Regions from separate parts of the Homo sapiens genome. Here regions 1, 2, 3, 4, 5 and 6 are each linked to region 7. The links are contacts of gene promoters, found by promoter capture Hi-C in blood cells and fetal thymus (Javierre and others, 2016). All regions are on one chromosome and are shown on one strand. Each heading gives the region's core, a stretch centred on a gene start or on the middle of the fragment in contact. The rest is flanking DNA. Distances are from core to core; before and after follow the strand shown. Region 1 overlaps LOC124904200. Region 2 has its middle 21 kb from the start of RABGGTB. Region 3 holds the start of LOC124904200. Region 4 overlaps ST6GALNAC3 (ST6 N-acetylgalactosaminide alpha-2,6-sialyltransferase 3). Region 5 overlaps ST6GALNAC3 (ST6 N-acetylgalactosaminide alpha-2,6-sialyltransferase 3). Region 6 overlaps ST6GALNAC3 (ST6 N-acetylgalactosaminide alpha-2,6-sialyltransferase 3). Region 7 holds the start of ZZZ3 (zinc finger ZZ-type containing 3).

The links. Contacts are between HindIII fragments. The CHiCAGO score rates a contact against its expected background, and 5 or more counts as called.
Region 1: a fragment that was not itself captured here is called in contact with the fragment with the promoter of ZZZ3 in region 7 in 1 of 17 cell types (erythroblasts); the score reaches 6.7 in erythroblasts.
Region 2: a contact is called between a fragment that was not itself captured here and the fragment with the promoter of ZZZ3 in region 7, in 1 of 17 cell types (naive B cells). The highest score is 5.1, in naive B cells.
Region 3: a fragment that was not itself captured here is called in contact with the fragment with the promoter of ZZZ3 in region 7 in 1 of 17 cell types (erythroblasts); the score reaches 5.0 in erythroblasts.
Region 4: a fragment that was not itself captured here is called in contact with the fragment with the promoter of ZZZ3 in region 7 in 1 of 17 cell types (total CD4 T cells); the score reaches 5.3 in total CD4 T cells.
Region 5: a fragment that was not itself captured here is called in contact with the fragment with the promoter of ZZZ3 in region 7 in 2 of 17 cell types (neutrophils and monocytes); the score reaches 6.7 in neutrophils.
Region 6: a fragment that was not itself captured here is called in contact with the fragment with the promoter of ZZZ3 in region 7 in 1 of 17 cell types (total B cells); the score reaches 6.1 in total B cells.

The regions. Positions count from the first base shown.
Region 1 is chr1:76,054,134-76,057,925 of GRCh38, reverse strand. It overlaps LOC124904200, which reads right to left. Exons shown (of 5, transcript XR_007066173.1): 3 at 2,322-2,413; 4 at 1,713-1,817. Among named protein-coding and RNA genes, the nearest start is that of ST6GALNAC3, 19 kb to the left of the region's middle. The HindIII fragment of the contact is 2,133 bases long and covers 666-2,798 here.
Region 2 is chr1:75,763,682-75,767,316 of GRCh38, reverse strand. No RefSeq gene overlaps it. Among named protein-coding and RNA genes, the nearest start is that of RABGGTB, 21 kb to the left of the region's middle. RefSeq lists an enhancer at 2,891-2,950. The HindIII fragment of the contact is 734 bases long and covers 1,483-2,216 here.
Region 3 is chr1:76,038,691-76,042,016 of GRCh38, reverse strand. It overlaps LOC124904200, which reads right to left and starts at 653. Exons shown (of 5, transcript XR_007066173.1): 1 at 334-653; 2 at 119-232. The HindIII fragment of the contact is 1,992 bases long and covers 879-2,870 here.
Region 4 is chr1:76,159,816-76,163,180 of GRCh38, reverse strand. All of the region lies in intron 1 of ST6GALNAC3 (ST6 N-acetylgalactosaminide alpha-2,6-sialyltransferase 3), which reads right to left. Among named protein-coding and RNA genes, the nearest start is that of ST6GALNAC3, 87 kb to the right of the region's middle. The HindIII fragment of the contact is 3,441 bases long and covers 62-3,365 here.
Region 5 is chr1:76,078,732-76,082,404 of GRCh38, reverse strand. All of the region lies in intron 1 of ST6GALNAC3 (ST6 N-acetylgalactosaminide alpha-2,6-sialyltransferase 3), which reads right to left. Among named protein-coding and RNA genes, the nearest start is that of ST6GALNAC3, 5.8 kb to the right of the region's middle. The HindIII fragment of the contact is 2,466 bases long and covers 660-3,125 here.
Region 6 is chr1:76,105,334-76,109,110 of GRCh38, reverse strand. All of the region lies in intron 1 of ST6GALNAC3 (ST6 N-acetylgalactosaminide alpha-2,6-sialyltransferase 3), which reads right to left. Among named protein-coding and RNA genes, the nearest start is that of ST6GALNAC3, 32 kb to the right of the region's middle. The HindIII fragment of the contact is 1,808 bases long and covers 1,337-3,144 here.
Region 7 is chr1:77,681,187-77,684,812 of GRCh38, reverse strand. ZZZ3 (zinc finger ZZ-type containing 3) reads left to right here and starts at 2,155. Exons shown (of 15, transcript NM_015534.6): 1 at 2,155-2,228. RefSeq lists enhancers at 900-999, 429-1,202, 2,020-2,099 and silencers at 1,150-1,209, 1,220-1,639. The HindIII fragment of the contact is 10,120 bases long and covers 1-3,626 here.

The DNA.
Region 1 (3,792 bases), core at 483-2,982, 1.6 Mb after region 7:
GTAAATATCAAGGGGTAACATTACTGGGTATATACCCAAAGGATTATAAATCATTCTACTATAAAGACACATGCACACATATGTTAATTGCAGCACTATTTACAATAGCAAAGACTTGGAACCAACCCAAATGCCCATCAATGTTAGACTGGATAAAGAAAATGTGGCACATATACACCGTGGAATACTATGCAGCCATAAAAAACAATGAGTTCATGTCCTTTGCAGGGACACGGATGAAGCTGGAAGCCATCGTTCTCAGCAAACTAACACAGGAACAGAAAACCAAACACTGCATGTTCTCACTCATAAGTGGGAGTTGAACAACGAGAACACATGGACACAGGGAGGGGAACATCACACACTGGGGCCTGTCGCAGGGTGGGAAGCAAGGGGAGGGAGAGCATCAGGACAAATACATACATGCAGAACTTAAAACCTGGATGACGGGTTGATAGTTGCAGCAAACCACCATGGCACATGTATACCTATGTAACAAACCCGCACATTCTGCACATGTATCCCAGAACTTACAGTAAAATAAAATATATATATATATATATATATATATATTAAGGTGTAATACAAAATCCAATTTTCATGCTCTAAATCAAGGATCAGCAATCTTTTTTCTGTAAAAGGCCAGACAACAAATATTTTAAGCTTTGCTGGTCTCCCTTACGAAGAATCAACTCTGCCATTGTAGTGCAAAAGTAACCATAGACAGTATCTTAATGAATGAGCGTGACTGTGTTCCAATAAAACTTTATTTCTCCTAAACAGATAGTGGGCTGGATTTGGTCAGTAATTTGGACTGTAATTTGTCAACTTCTATTCTAAACCACTATGCTTTAAAAATCTGAGAAGGTAGAAATCATAAGACATTGACAGGTAAAAAATATTACTGGGCTTCAAAGGAGGGAGACATTATAGCTTGGGTTACCAAAAAAGGCTTTATAGTGGAGGAGGTGATTTAGTGGGGTTTGAAAGATAGGTTAGATCTATCTACATGTGAACACCAGAGCTTTGGGTATCTCATGCAAAGAGAATAATGAGAGTAAAATTATGGAGACAGGATATGGAGTGGGGTACATAGAGTAAGAAGAGATAGTTCAGGTTGACTGAGAAACAGATATGTAGACCAGTGAGATAAGAAAAGTGGGGATTTTGTTGGATGCGATGGCTCACACCTATAATTCCAACATTTTAGGAGGCCAAGGTGGGAGGATCACTGGAGGCCAAGAGTTCAAGACCAGATGGGCAACATAGTGAGATCCCATCTCTTATAAATAAATAAATAGATACATAAATAAGAAATGTGGGCCTTTCATTAGATAAAAATATCTGGAACTGAAAAACAAGAGTTTTATTTCATAGAAAATTGGAAACCACTACATGTTTGTGAGGAGAGGGGTGGCATAAGAGAGGGAATAGTTATATATGTTATGCTTCTTTATGATGATGAGAGACAGTTGTGCCAGAGGGGTCAAGAATTAACCTGGGCCATCATGAGTGAAGATGCATTTCTAGTCATTGCAGTAAACTAATCTGACTGGAAAGGGCCCCAGTGAAACACTTGAAAAGTTTCCCCCACTAGAGTAATGAAATGAGAAGACATGTTCCCAACTGCCTACACAATGAGTGGAAAAGGATCGACTGCAAGAATCGGAATCTCAAGGCTAGGTGGTGGATTCAAACTACTTGCTCATCACCTGTTAGTCAGGAATTCAGGCTGGGCTTCGCTGGTTGGGCTCCTTCTGCTCCACTCGGGGCTGGGCTCATTCACTCCCTTGCTTTCAGCTGGTGGCTCCAATGAGCTGAGTAAGATGGAGAGGGCCAAGAAATCTTCACTTTCATGTTTAATTCATTGATATGCCATTTCCCTCTATATGTAGACAGCATGAGCTTCTCCACCACATAGTGGTCTCCAGTTAGTTATGCTTCTAACACGATGACTGGCCTCCAAAAGGGAGCTCTCCAAGTAGTGAAAGCAAAAGTTGGGAGTCTCATAAGGCCAGTCTTGGAAGTGATGCAGTGTCATTTCTGCCACATTCTGTCAATCAAAGTCAGTCACAGGCAGCTCAGAATCAGGGGAAGGGATCATAAACTCCACCTCTTGATGGAGGAGTGGCAAGATCACATTACAAAAGAGCTATTGGGAGAGGGTCTATTGTTGTGGTCTTCTCCAGAAACACAATTTACCACAGAAGTTTAACATAAAAATTAATCTAAGGCCAATGAAACCTCCAGGGACCTGGCAGAGGCAAACCCCAAACCACTTCTGTAGTTCAGGCCTCATGGGGGTCCCATGGTAAACAAACCTTGTTGAAAATGTGCTTGTGATCAAAAATTACAAACGACATAAGGAAACAGGACACAGATACAGCAGAGAGCAGAACTGGCACACCATCACCTGGAATAATGGAAGAAAATGAAAGAGATTTAGAAATAAACATGATTAACATGTCCAAAGAGCTAAAGGTAGAAAATATTAAAAAACACATAGGCATGCTTGAAAAGGATGAAATTGAAATCATAGTGACAAAAAGTATACTCATTGAAATAGAAATCCCAACACAGGTGACAAAGAATTAATGAAATGTAAGATAGACCTAGGGAAATTATTTTAGCACAAGTGCAGCACAAATAAAAGAGATATTAAAAACATGAAATATCTAAGGGATATTAAGATACTAAAAGGTTAAAATAAGAGTCTAATTCATACATCTAATAGGAATTCCTAAAGGAAGGAATGGAGAGATTGGAGAACCAATATCCAAAGAGAGTGTCTGAAAGCTTTCCACAATTAAAGAAAGAAGTCATTATATTTAGTAATAAATCATAGCAAAATTTAAGCAAAATAAATAAAAATACAAATACACAACAAGACACATCTTACTGAAAATGCACAACATCCAAAACAAGAAGTAAACAAAGCTCCGGGGAGAAGAAAATAAGACACGGTAACAATGGAACTGACAGTCTTCTCAGCAATAATAGGTAGATAATAGAATAATGTATTTTAAATGTTGAGGGAAAATAGCTATCAATCTAGAAATCTTTGAGTATGCAACTGTTGTTAATAATTAAGGCTAAATAAACCCATGTTGTAAAAAAGACAGAAACCATCCGATCAGAATTTTGTTATTTAACTTTACTGCAACATGCTTTATATACAATAAAGTACAGCCATTTTAAGAACACTGTTTGATCGCACTCTTGTAACTACCACCACAATCAAGATACAGAACATTTCTGTCACCACGAAAGGTTTCCTTTATTCCTTCCCCAGTCAATTTCCCCACCCCACCCTTGGCCCCAAGTAACCACTGCTCTGCTTTCTGTCACTATAAATTAGATTTATTTTTTCAAGAGTCTTTTAAAAAATGCTTTTAGACTGCATGTAATCTTTGTGTCTGGCTTCCTTCACTCTGCTTAATGTTTTTTGAGATTCATCCATGTTATGTGTATCACTAGTTTATTCCATTGCACAGAAAAGAAAACTGATGCTTCAATATTAATTCCAGACAAAAGAAAACTTAATCAGAAAGTACTGTTAGGGCTAAAGAGGGGCTGTATATAAGAAAATTACACCAAGAGAGTAAAATAAGCATGAATGCACATGTTTCTGTCACTAAAACGACAAAGCATTTAAAGTAAATCTGATAAAATTACAAAGACAGTCCAAGTGCAGTGGCTCATGCCTATCATCCCAGCACTTTGGGAGGTCAAGGCAAGAGGATTGCTTGAGCCCTGGAGTTTGAGACCAGCCTGGGAAACATAGTGAGACCC
Region 2 (3,635 bases), core at 600-3,099, 1.9 Mb after region 7:
AACTACAACTAATTTCTGCTCTGTAGAAAAGATGGTCCCATTAGGTTTATTGCCCTATACCAGTGATCCCCAACCTTTTTGGCACCAGGGACCGGTTTTGTGGAAGATAATTTTTCCACAGACACAGTGGGGGGTGCAAGGGGAGATGGTTTGGGGATAAAAATGTTCTCAGATCATTAGGCATTAGATTCTCATAGGAGCACGAAACCTAGATCCCTCATGTGTGCAGTTCACAATAGGGTTCGTGCTCCTATGAGAATCTAATGTTGCCACTGATTTGACAGGAGGTGGAGCTCAGGCAGTAATGCTTGCTCGCCCAACACACACCTCCTGCTGTGCAGCACAGTTCCTAATGGCCCAGAGACTGCTACTGGTTTGTGGCCTGGGGGTTGGGGACCCCTGCCCTATAGGATATGGTCAATCTACTAGCAAATTCTTTTTTTTTTTTTTTTTTTTAGACAGAGTTTCACTCTTGTTGCCCAGGCTGGAGTGCAATGGCACGATCTCAGCTCACTGCAACCTCTGCCTCCCAGGTTCAAGTGATTCTCCTGCCTCAGCCTCCCGAGTAGCTGGGATTGCAGGCATGTGCCACCATGCCTAGCTAATTTTGTATTTTTAGTAGAGACAGGGTTTCTCCATGTTGGTCAGGCTGGTTTCGAACTCCCCATCTCAGGTGATCTGCCCGCCTTGGCCTCCCAAAGTGCTGGAATTACAGGCGTGAGCCACCACGCCCAGCCTAGCAAATTCTTTTAAGCATTTATTACTGCCTCTATCTGCTCTTTAAATTCTCCCTTATACCAGTTTTAACTTTGTACTAGTTCCCTCATCCAATGAGTTAAATACAGTCTTTCACATATTAAGAAAAGAAAAAACACTGTTGCCTGTGGAATTTAATCTTTAATCTCCAAAGACCCTTTGTACTATTTGATAATATATTCAAATTAATGGCTGTAATTCTAGAAGCCATATCAACAACCATTTTTTTTTTAATCCAGAGGAGTCACTGAATAATTCTTCTCCCTCTATGCAAATTGATGACTCTGGTAGATTCCTTAAACATTCATTAAAATTCTGGTAAACCTACTAGATCACATGTAAAACTGTGCTTTCTCTAGGAACCATCAATTCACTGATGGGGGCAACTAATAGTCATGTTTGTAGTCCATGACTGTACCTACCCTCCTTCTTGTAATGGCCCTAGTCAGCAAGCTTATAAATGTGGTGGTCAATCCAAAATATAAATATGCTACCGTGAAGTCTGATTCTATTGTGGGATCAAAGAAGCAGAGAAAGTTAGACTATAGAGCAACAATGAATAAAATGACAGAAGTAGAGAGTTAGCAAAAGACTATATATATTTCATGGATTCCTGAGGACTGACTATTCTAGTTTTAGTCCCTTCCTGAGACTGACTTCATTCCTCCCTTTCAGACCTATGAGTCATTTCCACATACTTAAAATACATATTTGCTTAAAGAAGCTTAAATTCATTTACTTGTGACTAAAAAGGCTTAACTGATGCAAAATTACATAAGTGCTTAATATTTATTAGCAAGGATTCTATAATATTCTCATCATAAGGCTTTGGAGTACATTTATATCTTGTATAGAAACCTTTTCTTTTCTCTTTCCTTCCTTCCTTCCTCCCTCCCTCCCTCCCTTCTTTTGGAGTACATTTATATCTGGTATAGAAACCTTTTCTTTTCCCTCCCTTCCTTCCTCCCTCCCTCCCTTCCTTCCTCCCTTCTCTCTTTCCTTTTTTTTGATGGAGTTTCGCTCCTGTTGCCCAGGCTGGAGTGCAATGGCATAATCTCAGCTCACTGCAACCTCGGCCTCCCGGGTTCAAGCGTTTCTCCTGCCTCACCTCCTAAGTAGCTCGAATTACAGGTGCTCACCACCACGCCCGGCTAATTTTTTGTATTTTTAGTAGAGACCGGGTTTCATTATGTTGGCCAGGCTGGTCTCAAACTCCTGACCTTGTGATCTGCCCGCCTCGGCATCCCAAAGTGCTGGGATTACAGGCATGAGCCACCTTGCCTGGACCTTTTTTTTCTTTTTAGGGTCTCACTCTGTCACCCAGGATGGAGTATAAATGGTGCCATCACAGTTCACTGAAGCCTCAAATTCCTGCCCTCAGTGATCCTCCCACCTCAGAACCTCCCAAAGTGTTGGGATTATAGGCACGAGCCACCATGCCCAGCCCATGTCTAGAAGCTTTATGTTTAGAAATGGTTGGGCCTCTGTACTGCAAATTCAAATTTGCATTTGAAATATATACATTCTATTTAACTTCTCATTTCTACATAATACCCAATTAAGAATTCTCTAAATCTCCTTACCAATCTCAAGTTGTATCATTTAAATAAAATTTCATCATTGAGCATGAAGGAAATGTCATTTAAATATTTTATATTTGTAAGAAATTCGATTATTTTGGTAATTTAATGTGGTATAAGAAATTTATTTGGTCTTTGTTCCCAGGTCTTTGTTCCTGGCACAGAGCTCCTAAAACCCTTGGAATTTCTTGAGTTCTTGGAGTTATCTTCTGTTATTCCTTATAAACCTTTTCAATCATACCTGAATTTGGCATGAGATGACTTAGGGTGGGGCCCCTAGATAATCTCAGGAGGAATCTGGTCACCAGAAGGACTAAGTAATTAGAGGGTGATGTTATGGACTGAGTTGTGTCCCTCCAAAATTCCTATGTTGAAGCCTTAACTCCCAATGTGACTGTACTTGAAGATAGGATCTTTTAGGGAGTTAATTAAGGTCATGAGGATAGGACTCTAATCTCACAGGGCTAGTGTCCTTAGAAGAGGAGAAAAAGACACAAGAGCTCCCCCTAACCCAACCCTTCATGATGCACAGAGAAGAGGACATGTAAGGACACAGAAGGTGGCAGTCTATAAGGCAGGAAGAGAGGCCTCACTAGAAACAACCCAAATGGCACCTTGATCTTGAAATTCTAGCTTCCAGAACTGTGAGAAAATAAATTTATTTAAGCTACCAAGTCTCCAGTGTATTTTTTATGACAGCCCTAGGAGACTAATACAGTTGGGAGCTTCCAGCTTTCACCTTGGTCCTCTGGGGAGGAGTGGAGGACTGGAGATTGAGCTCCATGGAAACTATTGAATTTGAGCTGGGGAGCTTCCACGTTGAGGAATACAGAGACATGCAGGGAAGGTAATATGCTGGAAGAAGGCATGGAAGCTCTGCACCTCCCTTCTCCCTCCATACCTTTCCCTATGCACCTCTTCATTAATTGTTCCTAGTTGTACCCTTTCTGATATAAACAGGTAAATGTAAGTTAAGTGTTTTCCTGAGTTCTGTGAGCTATTCTGGCAAATTATCGACCCTGAGGGCAGGGTCATGGGAATACCTGAATTTGTAGCCATGTTGGACAGAGTATGGGTAGCTTGGGGAGTCAGGACTTGTGACTGGCCTCTGAAGTGAGGGCAGCCTTATGGGGTTGACCCTAACTCTGCTGCATAGTGTCAGAACAGAATTAAAATGTAGGACACAGTTGATGTCAAAGAACTAGAGAATGAGATGTGATGTCAGAAAGCACTCCATTTAGTATAACACAGTTTAGCAGTATTCGATATTTAGAATTACAAAGAAATATTAAATTCAGA
Region 3 (3,326 bases), core at 625-3,124, 1.6 Mb after region 7:
GCAGACAGGGGTAAGAGAAACATACACCATGTGGCCTTCATGTGAGTCACCTGTGTGACAGGTCATTAAGGCATTTAGGGAGATGAGTGGCAAATCAGGAGTCAAAGAAAGAGGTTACCTGGTATCTGGAAGCGCTTCTCGCTCTTCCACTTCCTCAGCTGCAATTCATTCTCTTCTTTTCTTTTACCTTTTCCTCTCCCTTTTCTTCTTCTTTTTCTCCCCTTTTCTGTCTCTGAAACATGGAAAAACACTTTTGAAAAGCATGTTACTCAGTTAAAAGAACAGATAATACATGGATCAGTTACAGGGTTTGCAGTCTGCTCTCTCCCTCACCTCTCACGTGTACATCCCCCATCTACTAAAAACCAAAAGCCAAAACAAATAAACACAAAACAAAACAAAAACCCTTCTTGGGAAGAGCAGCTCTTCCTCTCTCCCCTCTCTTCCCAACCCCACCCCTATCAACTCCCAGGGAGGTTGGGAGCTGCCTTTGGGTCACTAGATTTCACAAATGAAGATCAAGGTACTTGTTAGAAATAATTAAAATAATGTGCAGAATTAAAGAAGACCTTGGAGGGGAGGGGAGGCCCTGTAAGTCAAGAGCCACCCTCCCGGCCAGGCGCAGTGGCTCACGCCTGTACTCCCAGCACTTTGGGAGGCAGAGGCGGGTGGATCACCTGAGGTCAGGAGTTCAAGATCAGCCTGGCCAGCATGGCGAAACCTCGTCTTACTAAAATTACAAAAAAAAAAAAAGTGAACCCAGGAGTAGTGGCAGGCGCCTGTAATCCTGGCTACTTGGGAGGCTGAGGCAGGAGAATTTCTTGAACCCGGGAGGAGGAGGTTGCAGTGAGCCAAGATCGCGTGATTGTACTCAAGCTTGGGTGTCAAGAGCAAAACTCCGTCTCAAAAAAAAAAAAAAAAAAAAAAAAACCGCCCTCCCCCACTCCTGACTGACTTCAAAACTCAGTTTGAAGTTGAGAGTTGAATCCAAGGAGTGGAGAGGGGAACTCGGGGAGTGGAGACATGCAGGCTCTATGGGCACTGGAAGCACGTCTGACACATAGGAGACATTTAGTAAATATTATTGAATTAATTAAAAACAACAGGAGTGGAGACAAAAATCTATGTGGGAGCTACAAATTAGATCTCCTTGTTTATTTTCTAAGAGTCCAATAAAGATTTGAATTGCTGTTAATTACTTTTGCTTGATGGATTGGAGTTCTTTCTGTGACACTCTGTGAGAGGAGAGAGAAAGAAATCAACTAGGCAGATAGGGCAAGGGTCCTAAGTAGAATTCCCTTCTAACAAAAAAGCAGCTTCTAACACAGAAAGGGGCCTCCTGTGTGACATACAGACATACAGTGGGCCCCAGTAAGCACAGTCCTCTCCCTTCTTGGAAATACTCAGACAAGGAGGTTTGCACAGCAGGGAGTGCCTGCAGCAGCACTGATAAGACGAGCTACCCTGGACCAGGAGCGTCCACTGTAGAGGGTCCCGCCTCCTGGCCTTTTTCACACATGCGCAGTGGGAAGAGATAGGCAACATGGAGTAACTCAGACTAAGGAGCCCGCATGAGCACTAGAAAAAGTGGGGTGGGAACTGTCAGAAATTTGAGCCTTATGTAAATGAAACACCCTCCCCACCAGCTTGTCTATAAAAACCCTTGCATTTCATTGTAAAATGGCAACCCATCTTTCTGGGACCCCTCTCTGCTCCCGAGAGCTTTCTTCCTTTCGCTTATTAAACTTCTGCTCTAACCTCACCTTTGGAGTGTCCGCATCCTTGATTTCCTCTGCCGTGATAACAAGAACTTCCAGTAATACCCAGACAATGAGGCTGGTTTCAACTCTTTGCCCTGGCTTTTATTCAAGTTACATACACACATTGTCATCTGCCACGCTGGGAAATTGATATCACTTAGTAAACCACAAAGCTGGTGTTAGAATGGGGTTTGTGACTCTTGTGGATGAGCATCCAATGACAAGATACATTTGCTTTTTACATATAAATATGTCTCCCTGGCCGGGCGCGGAGGCTCACGCCTGTAATCCCAGCACTTTGGGAGGCCGAGGCTGGTGGATTGCCTGAGGTCAGGAGTTCATGTGTGGCCAACACGGTGAGGCCCCTTCTCTACTAAAAATACAAAAAAATTAGCCGGGTGTGGTGACGTGCGCCTGTAATCCAGCTACTCGGGAGGCTGAGGCAGGGGAATTGCTTGAGCCAGGGAAGTGGAGGTTGCAGTGAGCCGAGATTGTACCACTGCACTCCAGCCTGAGCGACAGAGCAAGACTCCGTCTCAAAGAAAAAAAAAAAAAAAGTCTCCCCAAGAAAACCATAGAATGCTTACCATTTTAACATGTTATTTTAGAGAGGTGATAGTGCCAAATCCCTTATTACACAGGTACTAAGTTATAGACTTCCAGATGGAATGTAAGGAAATACAAAATATTTTTAATGAAGCAGTAGAATGAAAGTAAAAATGGGTGAAATGTATTTATACTTTGAAGAATAGCAGTTGAACATCTCTGGGTGCCAGACATTGTGCTGGGTGCAATGTAGCATTAGGAAATGTGGTTAGAGCATCAGAAAATCAGAAATTCTGATTTACATTAGGAGTGTGGTAAATGCATTTCTATCCATATGAGAATATAAGTTGAAATCATATAATTCCCTCCTTCTGGGAATGTTAACCTCCCTCTTTGGGGAATCTCGTCTCTCCCTGATTCTAGACATGCGGAGGTTCTAAAGGGGGCTTTACACGATAGGGCCCCGTTGTTTTGGCCACAATTGATGAGTCCAGAGATGGGCATCTAACCCAAACCAGCTAGAGATGTTGCTGAAGGTTTTGCTTCTCATTATGTAAAGAAGCTTGTCTGGAAAAAAAAAGCGGGGAATGGGGAGGTGGTGTGCAAAAGAAAAGGAAAGAAAAAGAGGGAGAGAAAGAGAGGCCTGAGAGAACAAGAGTCCCTAGCTCCATGGGCCTGTGCTCAGCCACACCCCTGCTTTCTCCTGCAGACAACTGAACTGATAAATTTCCATTTTTTACTAAACTAGCTTGAGTTACTTTTTTTTGTCACTAGTATTCAAAATGTTTCTAACTAATATACTTAATATGTTTAAAGTGGTATATATAAATAAGCAAGGGGCTTTGCTAAGCCAAAGAATTATTTTATGAGCCTTAAAAAAATTGACTTTTGAAACCAAAGCCTGTGTTTAAAATCCCAAGTTTATTGCTCACTAGTGGAGTAATCTTGGGCTACTGCCCTTGAACTGTGGTTTCAATACTACCTATAAAAAGCGATAAATACATACATTTATAGATACAC
Region 4 (3,365 bases), core at 533-3,032, 1.5 Mb after region 7:
CTAAAATACTATAAGGTTTTAGAGTAGATTGGAATCAGTTCTGAGTTAGTCAAAGGAAGCTTCATTAAAAAGAGAAAAAGACTTAAGGTAGGCACTCAAGCTGCTTTAGGATTCAGCACCCTGAGAGGGAATCTAGAATAATGACAGTTGCCATTGATTGAACACCTACAAGACCCACGCAGGACTTTTCTCAGCTCTTCAAAACAGAGCGCATGCTCTCCGGTCTCTGAGTCCACACACATGCTATTCCCCTGCCTTGGACAGTCTTTCCCCAGCTCTGGGCCTGGTCACCTCCTCTTTGTCCTTCACGTCAACCTTTAATACTACATCCTGTATGGTATTCAAGGTAACTGAGAAGTTTTATGTGACCCCTAGACCTAGCTGGGCCCCCTTGCTAACTGCTCACCTGGCACTTACATACATTGCCCCTTTGTAATTATTTGTAAATATTTACTTTAAGGCTTGTAACTGTTTATGGTTATACATCCATTAGACCCAGCTGGGTGTGCTCACCACTCTACCTCCAGGACCAACTCATAATAGGAGCTCAATAAGCTGGCTCATGATTGTCTTAACCAGGCATCCACAAATTTTATCTCATTTAAACCCTCACTACAACACTGTAAGGTCAGTACCATTATTCCCCCATTATACGGTGAAGAAACTGGGGCTTAAAATAGCTAATTAACTCACCCGCGTCCTGCAACAGAGAAAACAAAACTTCAGCCAGGTGTGCCTGACAGCAAAGGCCATGTTATTAATCATTAGGTCATACTTTCCTTCTGCTCATAAACAAAAGCATAAAGGCAGGGATAGAATGGCATTTCATGGTGCAGAGAGACTTATCTGGCTACAACGGAGAATGCGCATGCAACAGATTCAAATTAAACATTTCTTGAGTACCTGCCATATGCCAGGGACTAGGCTGAGCATCTTTTACATGGATTATCTTATTTATTCTCACAATAACCCATGGGTTTAAATTTATTATGTCTATCTTATGATGGAGAAATACAGAGGTTAAGTAACATGCCCATTCACACAGCTGTTAAGCAGCAAAGCCAACATATTAAGCTGTAAGTTTGGGCAATGATGCAACCACAGTGGATTTTAGAGGATTTTGGAGCACAGTTTTTGAAGACCTTTTTTTGCCTGGCCCTGTCCCCAATTTGAGTGCCAACTGTCTGCCAATTGGCATTGGCAAATGTCGATTTCCAACTTTTTATGACCAACCCTGATCTTCAGTTAAGGGTTTTTGACCAAAGCCTGACAATATTTGACTGAAGCACTAATGCAAACTCTGGAATTAAATAACATTTAGAAAAGAAAGCCCAGTAGAAATACACAGACCCAGCATGAGGCACTGTGTTTAACTGGTGTATGTACAGACCCTGTCCAAATCAATGGGTGTCCCTTTAAGGCCAATTACGTAGCTCATTGTTGGGGCAAGCCAGAGTTAGGAGAGCCAAATTACAGAACAGCCCTCAGTAAAAAGAAATGTAAAGCTCTTTTCTCCAGAGATTGGGTATTATCTTCCCAGCAAGTACTTTAAGACATCAGCATCGGCCCATCTGCAATATAAATTTAGATCTCAGTAGAGTATGTAAAGCATCCTTGGGTGATTAGCAGAGAGAAAAATCTCCAGAGGTCCCACCATTAAATGAAGACCCACAGCACCTATCCTCCAGGGAGAGTGGAACTTGTTCTGCAGCTCTTGATGAAGGACTGAGGGGAGCGGCAGGGAAGCAAGCAGCAAGGGTCAGGAAACCTAGGTGCTGCCGCTCTCTGCCGCTTACCAGTTCTGTACCTCCGACAAATCGAAAACCTCGGGGTTGCAAAGAATCTTGAAAGTCTGTTAGTCCAGACACTTTACCAATGTTTGAATCCCTTTAATAACATGGCTGCTAAGTGATAATTTAGTTTACACTTTACACTCAAGTGATAGAGAAATCATTGATTTCATTGCCTCTCCAGTGCTCTATCACTTCTGAGAACCTTGGAGAAGGAATAATGGCCCAAGTGTTAGAGGTTGGAAAGAATCTGAAGTCTGAAAGGCAATAGCACTTAACAATGCTGGAGAGTAGCAAGAGGTCACCGGCCCATCTCTACAGAAAGAGTTATCAATTATTAATCAAGGTTAAGTACTCATGTAAGTTTCCAAAACTCAAAAATTAAAAGATGGGTCCTTTACATAAGTGGCTTGCCTGTAGAGTAAAAAGAAACCTCTTAAAATGTTGAAACTTTAAAATAAATTTTTCATCTACAAAATTCAGCTGTAGAGAAGAAGATATTTGAAGTATAGAGCAAGTAAGATATGTTGATTATACAGCAGCATTACTCTATTTATGGTTGTGGACTGGTGAAAGTCCACATGTTGTTTGTGGGCTGCAAGGAAATAAGAGCTTGCACTAGAATCCAAATCAACTTTGTCACTAAGCACACTTTTTGCTTCAGTAGACTGTGTGTGTGTGTGCACCAAGATTTTCTCCGTGATGGAAGCAATGCATTGATTTATATTCTGGTGCAAGCCCCTTATTTTGGCCCAAACAGTAATGAACAGTTCACAGCCTGGCTAGTTTGTAGAACACCGTTAGAGAGTAAGATGGGTGCCTCCTATATCAACAGGCACACCAGTGGGATTTTAATGACCCTTGTGACACCTCTTTCTTCACTCTGTGAAGCACCAACCCCCAAAACCACAAGAAGCCAGCACTTCTACTGCCACATCCCAAAGCCGATGCATGATCTCACCTAGACTATTGCGAGGCCTTCCAGCAGGCCCTCCTGGCTTTCAAATGATTCTGACACATGCCCAAACCAGCCTTCACACTGCTACTACAGGAACCCTTTTGAAGTGTATCTAGACACAGACTCCCCTTCTTAAAATCCTCTGAGAGCTCCCCAATGCTTACGGCATTAGCTTTAACCTTTTAAGTGTAATAGCCAACCACTGCCTGCCACTCTTGACCTCTGGGATTACTAGCCATTCCCTGAACACATTATATATTTTCATCCATCTGTGTGTCCACTCACATTCCTTCCTCTACTTGGAATACAATTCCTTTTCTATCCACCTATAAATTCCTACTCATCCTTGAATATCAGTTCAGAAAATACCTTCTCTGCAAGTTTCACCAACAATCCTACAAAGAGCTATGCATTCTGACCTTCTCTGGAAGGCAGTTTAGTGCCATCATTAACAGGGCAGGCTCTGGAACTTAACTCTACAATTCCTATCTTTATAAAGATTGAGCAAGTGATTTAACATCTCTGTGCTTAGTTTCCCCATCTGTGAAATGAGAACAACCACAGTAATTCCTTTGTAGGGTTGATGGGGAAATTAAATTAGCTAATCCATGGAAAAC
Region 5 (3,673 bases), core at 643-3,142, 1.6 Mb after region 7:
ATTGGCAGTAAAAGGCATAAAACGTGTACATCAGAATGGCTGGAGGCAAATGGGGTCTGGATAATCCATAAACTGAATAATGAGCCTTTTAATAACCAGGAGCTAACTGCAGCTTTTGGTAATGGGATCCAGGTAGCACTTGTAAATCTACTCCCTCCAATTAGAAAAATGCCTTCCTCCACTGTTCCCTAAAGCCAGGAAACAGAAAAGAACCTCATTCAACTCCCAGCCCTCAGGCATAAGTGTGTGTTAAATTCTTACAAACAGAAATTTTTCTCCTGGGGAGAAGCTTTCATAACTTCGCTCAGTCGTTTACTAGAAAGCTTAATAGGCTTCCCTGTTTTCCTCAGACCTAAACCCCTTCTTTCTCCCACTAGTCCTTCAACAAAGGTTTCCTCGATTCCAGCTATTATCAGTACTAATAATACTAATAACGTTTTTTGCCATTTCCACTTCATGCCTATGCAGTGCACTCTGCTTTGCAAAGTGCATTCACAAGCATTATCTCTTTGGTTCTCCAACACCACCCAAGGGACAGATCTATGTTGGGGAGCCTGAAATGTATACGATTTGTGGGATTCCTTGATAAAATGAATATAAAATTATAAATACCAAAATGCTAGTGTCTCTTCCCAGAACCTTGGAAGGGCCCTGAAGCTTGCGTTCAGGGTAAATCCAACTCTCCCTCACTCCCACCCCCAAAAAGGACACATAGGTTCACATAACTTGCCCAGGGTCAAAGATCTATTCAGAATTAAACAGAATTAAAGCCTTCTTATCTCCTCAGTCTTTGCAGCCCCTCTAGTTCCTCTAGTTCTTCTGTCACAAAGGAAACTTAAAGGAACAAATAAAAACGACACAGCTAAAAGTGGTCCCCATCAGGCCACCAGATTAGGAAGTTGTCTAGACTGGATATTGTCTGGGGTAGAAGATGGTGAAATAAATTCAGAATCCCTATAAATATTTACTAAATTGGCACTGAAGGTAAAAGACAAGCTCTATAGCTTGTCCAACCCGCAGCGCAGGACAGCTTTGAATGTGGCCCAACACAAATTTGTAAACATTCTTAAAACATTATGAGATTTCTTTTGCGATTTGCTTTTTTTTTTTTTTTTTTTTAGCTCACCAGCTGTCATTCGTGTTAGTGTATTTTATGTGTGGCCCAGACAATTCTTCTTCCAATGTGGCCCAAGGAAGCCAAAAGTTTGAACACCCCTGCTTTACAACCACACGAAGTCAGGGTGAACCCCACCTCCATCACTTACTGACCACAGGACATCGGACAATTTACTTAGGTTTTCTGAACTTCAGTGTCTTCATTTGTAATAAAAGTTTACTTAGCACAGAAGCCAGCCTGAGCACTCTGGCTGTTCAATAAATGGCACCTATTGTTGCTGTTGTTATCAATCCATCCAAAGAGCACTACTTTTACCCAAGCCACTCATTCCCCACAATGTGCTGATATACGTAGCAAAAGCATCTGCTCAGTCACTGTAAGACTGGAAATTAGGCCAGGCAGCTGCTGAGAATTCAGCATTTCCTGGGCAGCAATAAGAAATGTCATAGCAGATTTATTAAATGAAGTGACTTGTCTACTTGCCAGGGTTATCCTACGGTTTCAGATTTATCATCTGTGTACCTGTGAAGTCCCTGTGGCTTTCCAGTCTCAGTGAAGCCATACTGTTTTCAAATGCTTTGAGACCTCATCGTTTGAGAACCACACAATCATTTGGTTGTGGGTGTTTGGTTTTTGATTGTTTTTTTTTTTTTTTGGTTTATCTGTTTCTGTTAATCTGGGGAACCAAAATGATCATGACAAAAGTTAAACCACGCCTACACTTCTCTTTTTCCCTCCTTCTAGTCCAGTTCTCTCATCTCCCCATCCCCCCAACCCCAGATCTTAAATTGGCCCCAGATTTTATATGAGGAATGGTAACAGACCTACCTACAAGAAACATACTAAGAAAAAATTTAAGGAGCAAACTAATCAACAAGCTCTAATCTGCCTGCTATACATTAGAGTAAAAAATCCATGCCACATCCTTGAAATGCTCAGCTGTTTTCAGAAGACAGGTTGGACCTGTGTCTATAACTGACATAAAAAAAAATTAATAACACCACTGATACATTCAGCAAACACTTAAGGATCACCTACTGAGAGCCAAGCTAGTTCTTAGAAATACCAAGTTGAATAAAACAAAGCCTTTTCTGCCTTTTACATTCAGTTCAGTAACCGTCAACACCCCACCCATATACTCCCATACCATGAGGTGTAATTTTCAAACTCCTCGCATACTTTTAATTACTAGTTTAATTATTTGCCTTCTCACTGAGTCTATAATCTCACTTAGGGTAAGAACAGAACTCAATTACAGATGCTCAGTAAACACTGGAAGGCCGCGGCTCCCTAACATTTGATAGTCAAAGAAGAGCTGGGCATGAAAGCAGTTTATTGACAGTACATGGTAATACCTGCTACTACAGGGACAAGAACTAAGACCACAGGAGCACAGAGGAAGCCTGCTGAGGCAGGGGATGGCCTGACCACAGATGTGACTCTAAAGTGGGAGTTGAACAAGGCAGGGGGAGTAAGGATGGAAAGTAAGGGGCAGAGTTGAGAGGTTTTCCTGAGACAGAACTGATGCACTGTGGAGAAGGATTAGATCTGGGGCAGGGGGAGGAAGAGGAAATGAGAAGACGCCAAGTTCCTAACTTGGTATCATCATTCATCTAATTACCTATCAATCAAGATAAATATATGAGGACAGGTCACTGGAGAGAAGGTAATTGTGGCTTAGTCATGCATCTATCGTATCAGCTAACTGCTTCATGTTCATAAGCCTCATCAACCTGGCAAAACCATAATCTTCTCGAAGGCAGAAATGATTCTCAAGGATCTTGTGTCTACATGTCCACTCAATGTCCACTTCCAATATAAAAGTTAATACAATTCACCTATATTTTTTAAAAATGAAAGTGTACAAGACACTGTGCTGAAAATGTACCTGCTGACCAAGGGTAGAAATCATAAAAGAAAATATGGATAGATTTTCTTGCATAAAATTTTAAAGTATCTATAATTTATAAAAGAAGAAAGACAAATGACTAATACAAATTTAAAAGCTTAACTTCACTAATGATCAAATAAATACAAATTAAAGCAAAGAGTTTTCCTGTCTATCAAATTTGAGAGACTTTTTAAACAACCCCACGAGATCTTCCCTGTAATCTGTCTCCTGGAGCTGCTGAAAACAGAGAATCTGACAAGGGCTCTGGGGCCCAAGAAGACATCAGAGCTGCTTAATGAAAAGAGACTGGTCCTAGGCCAGGCACGATGGCTCATGCCTGTAATCCCAGCACTTTGGGAGGCCAAGGCACACAGATCACTTGAGGCCAGGAGTTCAATACCAGCCTGGCCAACATGGTGAAACCCCGTCTCTACTAAAAATACAAAAAATTAGCCAGGCATAGGGGTGCATAGCTGTAGTCCCAGCTATTTGGGAGGCTGAGGCACGAGAATTGCTTGAATCCAGGAGGCAGAGGTTGCAGCGAACCAAGATCACGCCACTGCACTCCAGCCTGGGCAACAGAGTGAGACTCTGTCTCAAAAAAAAATAATAATAATAAAGAGACTGGTCCTTGAGTTGATTCTTTATTCAATGGTAGAGCTACA
Region 6 (3,777 bases), core at 991-3,490, 1.6 Mb after region 7:
CTAGGACTCCAAGTTATGTAAGATTCCTCCCAGGAACACAAAGGCTGCACCAGAATTTTTAGAGAATCTTTAAATCATCTAATTAAATAATATAAAAACAGAATCACAGTATGGCAGCTTTCTGGTTAGCTGTCATACTGCTGTGAACTAAGGCACCCCAAAGGAAACTGAGCCTTTATTTTAGATGTGAAAATTTTTATTTTCTTCAGAAACACACACACACACACACACACACACACACACACACACTATGTCTACAGATTTCAGAACTCATTGCACTGGTATTACCATTTTCAAAATGACCAAGACTTTTGCAAATACTTAACCCACTACACCTAACCATTAATGAGATTTACTTTTTCTTCCCTCCTATGATAATTTGTTTCGATCGAGGGATTTAAATTTCCCATAAAATAGTTTAGAGACCCTTCATACCCAGGCTCAGAAGACAACTCCTGTAAAGACTGATCCTTTGCTACAGATGCCTTTGTGATCATAAGTAATTCCACACAGTTACCTTGTTTCTTTAACCATCTCTTAAAGCTTCAGTGATGAGCAAACACAACTTGGCTGAACACAGTTCCATCAAAGAATCTGAGCTGAGTTTCTATCTCTATTCACAATGGAAGAGGCCTTGATTTGGAGATTAGAATGTGATTAAACAAGAAAGGTAGTGCACCAAGCTAGGGGTCCTGGCTGGCAGTCCTCAGATGGGCTTCAAAGGATCTGTGAATCCCTTCAAATTGCATGCAAAACCATGTTATGTATTCTGTGAATTTTTGTGAAAAAAAGAGCCTGTAGCTTTCAATAAAAGGGTTGGTGGCTCAATGAGATTTAGGAATCTTGAGGCACATAGACCAGTAACTGCTTTGTGAATAAATGAATAAATGCACTCAGAGAGAACAGCTTCAGTTCACTGCTAGGCTTGACCTTCCAGATCAAACTCTTCTTTAGAGGTGATTTCAAGAAGACAGTGAGAGACTGGTGGTGCCAGACCATTATTACACATCTAAGAGTCAGCTGACCGTGTCACAGTCCTGCCTCCCACCTCTTACAGCAAACATTACTTTACTCTTCATCATTTTCAACTCAAACAGCCCAAATATATAGCTAAAATCGCAGCTCTTTTCCCTAATTTTGAAAATCAATTCAAGTATTAGAGATCTATAGCCTCAATGCCAGGAAATATAAATGTCTACCGACAAAATGCCAAGGGTACAGGTTCTGAGGATGATGAAAGGGCATATAGGAGCAAAAATGGGCCAAAAAATAAAGTACATTGGGTGTAGAGAGAGGGAGAGGACAGAAAAAAGAATGTAGATCTGCCATAGAAGCTTCCATTCTTCTCCACATTGCATCTTCCTATGAGCCCACACACATGGGTCGCCCATAGTGTTCACCCGCAGGGCTGTATTTGAACAGGAGGTGGGCTGGCGGGTGGGGCAAGAGAAAAGAGGGCTCAATCGCAAAAAGCTCACACTGATTAATAAGGAAGGAACTGGAAATGCAAGTAGGAAGAAAAAAAGCCCCTGTGTACTATGAATAATAAGACAAAGATAATACCACATACAAGAATATTTATAAGGCAAGGAGATAATCATGGTACCAAAGAAAGTAGAAAATTGGTTAAGAATAGAACACAACTTTGACAATCAGACCAATCTGGGTTTGAGTCTTGGCCATACCTTCTAAAATTGTGAGCTTAGGCAAGTTATTTAACTCTTCAGAGCCACCATTCCTTCTCAGTGAAATGAGGATAAAAAGAGGACAGATCTCATTGGATGCCTGATTATTATAAAAAAAAAAAAAAAAAGCAAAAGTGTGTTTAAAGAATAACATGTCTGATTAATACTTAATATGCAATAACTGCTATTATTCTCATCAACCATTGTCTTCATTGGATTAGGCAGGGAAGAAGTTAGTCAGGAAAGAGGGGCTGAGTTTGCTCCAGACTTGAAGAAATGTTTGCAGTACAGCTGTAAACCCACAATGTAAGTTCTCTCCATGACCAACCCAACCCCACCCAGTTGGTGAAGACCCTGAATGAAGCCTGTGTTTCTTTCCATAAACTCATGACTGAACAGCATGTGGTAATTACCCTTCTGGCTCACAGGAATGGAAAAATAGAAGTTAATTTCTCAGCAAGATAGGAAGAATTTGTCTTCAGACTCTATGTACAAGTCTTGAGCAACGGGAAATGTATCCATGTTATTACCTCAGAGTAAATGCTGCCATGCACACTTTTCCCATGACAATGGCAGTGAGCCTAGGGAAGGAAAGATACTTCAGAAATGACACTTTTATTTATTTATATACTTCAGCAAGTTGTTTTCAATAATTGTTCTGTGTCCTGGGTTTTTAGTTGTTATTGTTGCAAAATTCACTCTCTTCCATCCAAAACTTAATGTCCCTCATGTTTAGATTATGGATTTTTCCGTGTGCTTAATTCAAAAAGAAAAGAAAAGTATGTTGTTGCTGATGATCCACCTCACCCCACCAAGTGACATGACTGCTTCAGCATTTGAGGAGCATGGGTGCACCATCCAATTCCTACACAAAGCATTGGGGGCCATCAAATGGAAAACACAATTATCCCAAGCACAAGGCACAGCACTGAAGTCAAAGCACAGCCTTAGACTGCCTCAGCGAGCTCAAAGTCCCAGCAGCATTGAGTAGGAGGGAAAATGGCAAAGAGTTTCCAAAGTTATCTTGTGGATTTATCAAAACTCTCTTCTGTCAGCCCCTCTTGCACCAACCAACATGGTTCAGCTCATTTTTCCAAGGGATGAGGGCTAGAGAGGAAACAAAGAAAGACTGCCCTGCAAGACAAGGATCTGTTATAACAACAACATTTTTAGTCTTACAAATAAATCAACTAATTAAAAGAAAAAATTTCCCATTGGATTTCATTATCATGACAATAATAACAACAACAAAAATATAAGATTTATTGACCACTCATTATGTTCAAGGCCCTATGCCAGGTGTTTTCATATACATATGAATTCTAAAAGACAAGCATTCTTGTTGTCATTTGACAGAGAAGAAAATAGACCCAGAGAGTTTAAGAAAAGTGCCTAATGTCACAGTGATGATAAATAGCAGAGCAAATACCTGCACACAGTTTGGTACGACTCCAAAGCTTATACTCTTTCCATGTTACCTGACAATTCTATTTTCTCCATCATGTGAAGAATTGTCTCTCATAAAAAAAGCTAATCGTTCCAGTTTAAAAAAAAGAGTAAGAAAATTATTTGAAGTGGTATTTGTACAATATTTTTTTAAATGTAATAGCCAGACGGTAATAGCACTAGCAATCCAGGATGTATTTTATAGGGCTATTAATATATGCCTCGAGTGGTCAAAGGCTTTGCCACTCACTTGAGGCAAATAGTAATGGCCAATAAAACTTGCCTTGTCATGTCTTAATACCACATTGTATCATCACACTTGTAATGAAATGCTCTTAAACTTCAGTGTTATCAGAAAGGAAGAAAAAGTGGTAATTAAATGAGCTAGCAAAATGAGGAGGAAGTGTGGAAAAGTGGAGAGAGCCCTGAGTTGAGACCTTGGCCTAACTCTCCCATGCACCTCTGTGACCTAATCTCAGGATGTCAGCATCTCCATCTGTAATCTGTGGTTCATTACGACAAGCCAAGACTTCCTCCAGCTCCCACAGTCTGTGGTTCTTCAGTGAATTCACATTCATTTAACAATAGCTCACTGAAATCATCTAGGGGCACACCTGTGCTAGAAGCTCAGGACAGCAGTAACCAA
Region 7 (3,626 bases), core at 906-3,405:
ATTTTTCTATTTTTAGTAGAGACGAAGTTTCGCCATGTTGGCCAGACTGGTCTTTAACTCCTGACACCTCAGGTGATCTGCCTGTCAAGGCCTCCCAAAGTGGTGGGATTACAGGCTTGAGACACCGCGCCCGGCCTCCCCCACCCCCGTTTTTTTTTGACATACTGCCACCCAGAAACACTAGTATGTTCAATAAATACTTGATGTGTTAAAAACATGTAACCCTTTTTCTTGAAGTAGATGTTACTTTGAGTTGAACTCAAAGCTAAAATACAAAACACCATTTAAAACATTTAATAACTTTTATTAGCAACATAAAAGAAGGCACAACACGTATCCACTTGCCCGAAAAAAAAAATAGTGTTGCAAAGGAAAACAAAAGTAATGAAACAGCACTGGACAATTGTCAAAGAAGAGCCCCAGTTAACGGCTTCTACCACTGGATTTTATATTTTTGGAACATAATCTTTATAGCCACGGAAGGAGGTTTAGCTGTTTTTCCACAGCTCATAAATGATGAAGTTATTTATCTTCATTAATGTGTGTTGGGCTTTATTTTCCTACATGCTCAATATAGTTGGTAGATCTGTTTTGATATTACTGAGCACTGCTTTGTGCCAGACACAATTCTGGGGATACAGCAATGAGCAAAACAGTTTACTAAGTCCCTGCTTTTAAAAATTTTACATTTCTGGTGGTGAGGATACTGACAAATAAGGTCTGGAAGTTGTAACTGTTATGAAGAAATAAAAGCAGGTGAAGAGTTAAAGCAATGGTGCAGGTGTACTTTTTTTGGATACAGTGGTCTGGGCAGCCCTCTGAGAAGGGACCTGAAATATGCATCGAACATCGAGGAGTTAAAAAAAATCTGGAGGAAATGTTCTGCCAGAGAAATCGGCAAGCACAAAGGCCCGAAGTGGTTCGAGCCTGCGTGCTGTGGTACAAGCCAGAGGTGAACGAGGCGAGGCAGAAGCACGATCATAAATACATGTATGGATGTTCTCCTGGCTTGAGACCACAGTGCTAAGGGAGGTGGGGTTTACAAATCTCTCAGGAGGCCACAAAGGGCAGGATGAAGCCGATTTCCAATGGCGGAGCTACGAGGACGCCTTTCCTCTGCTAGGGCCAGGTTGGACGGTTGCAAGGGATGGACTGCAACCCGCCCTCGGAAGACCAAACTTCGCCCAGGGGCAGGGACTGGCCGGGGAGGGCCTCGGCGGCGCCCGACCCGCGGGCGCTGCACGGGCCGCGGTTACCAGCAGGCGGTGTAGTGAGCGCGCCTGCAGCAGCAGCAACAGCAGCAGCAGCGGTCGCCGCCGCCGCCGCCGCCCGCCAGTCCCAACGAGGAGAAAGGAGGGGACCGGAAGGAGCCGCTGGTGCTGCGGGAAGTGGCAGGAGCGGGAGGCGGGGACCCACCTGGAAGCGCCGCGGCGCCGCTATCGAGCTTCCTGCAGCGGTGGCCACCCGAGCAAGTGCCGTGGCGGGGGCGGAGAGCGGCCACGGCGGCGGCGCCTCCCCAAGTGGCCCGTTGCGTCCGACCCCGCGTGAAAGGTGAGCAAGAGCTCGGGACACGTGGTGAGGGCCAGACACGGGGGAGGGAGAATGAAGGGGGAGGGAATGGGGGTGGGAAACGATCGGCTTGGGACCCGGATTTGGAGCCAAGTACCGGGAGGGGGTGGGCTGGAGGCGACGACTGCGACGGCTGCGACGGCTGCGACGGCGAAGCCCCCACGTGGGGCGGGGGTGCGCGCGCACGTGTGCGCGGGCGAAAGGGGGGGCGGGGAGGGCTTTTGGGAGGGCGTCGGGAGCGCGCTCGCTCAGTAGCGGCCCACGTGACGGGCACGCCGAAAATGTTTCCACGTGACAGGGAGGCTGCCTGGGGCAGCGCACTGCGCTCTGTTTATGTAGTATAATCGTGGTAATCGGAGGTTTTTAAGATTTCTGCTTTTCTGTACAAGGGGAAAGGAGGAGACGTATAAAGCGGAAAGACTTCCTACTGTCTCAGTGTTTTAAATGTTCACTACTCCGTTAGTGAAGTGCTTTTTAAGTTCCGAAATACTGATTTTTTTCTGTACCGCCATGTTGGGTCTAGTGGAAGCTCGCGAGATGCGAGTGGGTTTGTATCGCGAGATCTCTCGATTCTCGCGGGACCTCGTTGGCAGAGCAGTTGTCCTGGATGGCGGAGCCTTGGGTTCCGGGGGCCTGGGACCTGCAACTCTTTCTACAAGGCAAGTCGTTAGGGAGGGGCCCGGGGCGAGTGCCTCTTGGTGCCGGGATACGTGCTGCATCAGCTTCCCATAGTCTTGAAGGGAATACAGTAACCCCATTGAGGCAACACTGCCCTCCCCATCCCCCTGCGGGCGCTCCACCACCTGCAAAAGCATATGCACCCCTCAGCCAGGTCCTTCTCCCCACGCAGTGATAGTTCCACCCTGTCCCACTCACTGGAAGTCCGGGAGCCGTGCTCGCGCAGACCTGATGATTCCATTGGATACCGTTCCTCTTACTTTAAGATGTTCTTGTCAGTTTTTCCCTTCTTGCCATTTTCTAAAGTATTCCAGACCGGTTAACTATTGTGTCGCGTTTTCTGCTGCAGTACCTGACTCCAGTCTCCTGAAACAGAACTCCTCCCATCTATTTTCTCTGGGTGTCATTTACTCATCACCCTGACTTCGTATTTTCAGTAACTTTTGGCAGTATTTGGAGGGCCCATTATGTCTCTGACAACACCTGTGGTCAGAATAAAATCCTGCTTTTCATCATTTTGTACGTGCCTATTAACTCAGTTATCGGTAGGGTTTTAATTACTACTGTGTTACTGAGGTTGCCATCTTTGAAGTTTAGGGATGGTTGTTTTAGGTTATATATTTAAGGTAACAGACTGTTTCATGTGATTTTTTTTTTTTTTTTTTTGAGACGGAGTCTCGCTCTTGTCGCCTAGGCTGGAGTGTAGTGGGGCGATCTCGGCTCATTGCAACCTCCGCCTCCCGGGTTCAAGCGATTCTCCTGCCTCAGCCTCTCGAGTATCGAGTAGCTGGGATTACAGTCGCGCTTCACCACGCCCGGCTAATTTTTGTGTTTTTAGTAGAGACGGGGTTTCACCATGTTGGCCAGGCTGGTCTCAAACTCCTGACCTCAAGTGATCCACCTGCCTTGGCCTCTCAAAGTGCTGGGATTTCAGCACTGTACAGGCGTGAGCCACCGCGCCCGGCCTCAGGTCAACTTTTTAGTAAAGAGCAAACTCATAAATTTTGGCATCAGAGTTTGAGCTTTATTTTTCTTAAATGAGTTTGAAATCAATTTAATATTTCTCTCCAATTCCCTAATGTCTCAGAAGTGAATTTACAGTATACCTTTGTTTTTTCGTATTCTTAAGTAGTATTTGGATTTTATTTAGTAGTTGCAGTACTAAATAAGGAGTGGGGAGTTAATTACAAAACGAATCAGGTGACTAGTTAATTTATTCATAGTTTGTTTTTTAAAACTACAAAAGTGTTTTTTTTTCCTATACATAATACAGAGAGGTATATAGTATAGAGTAACACAGTGCTTGTTTCACGGTACCACAAAGTTCCATTCCTCAGTCTTAAATCTCTGTAACCAGCCTTTGTGGTTGCTGTGTATCA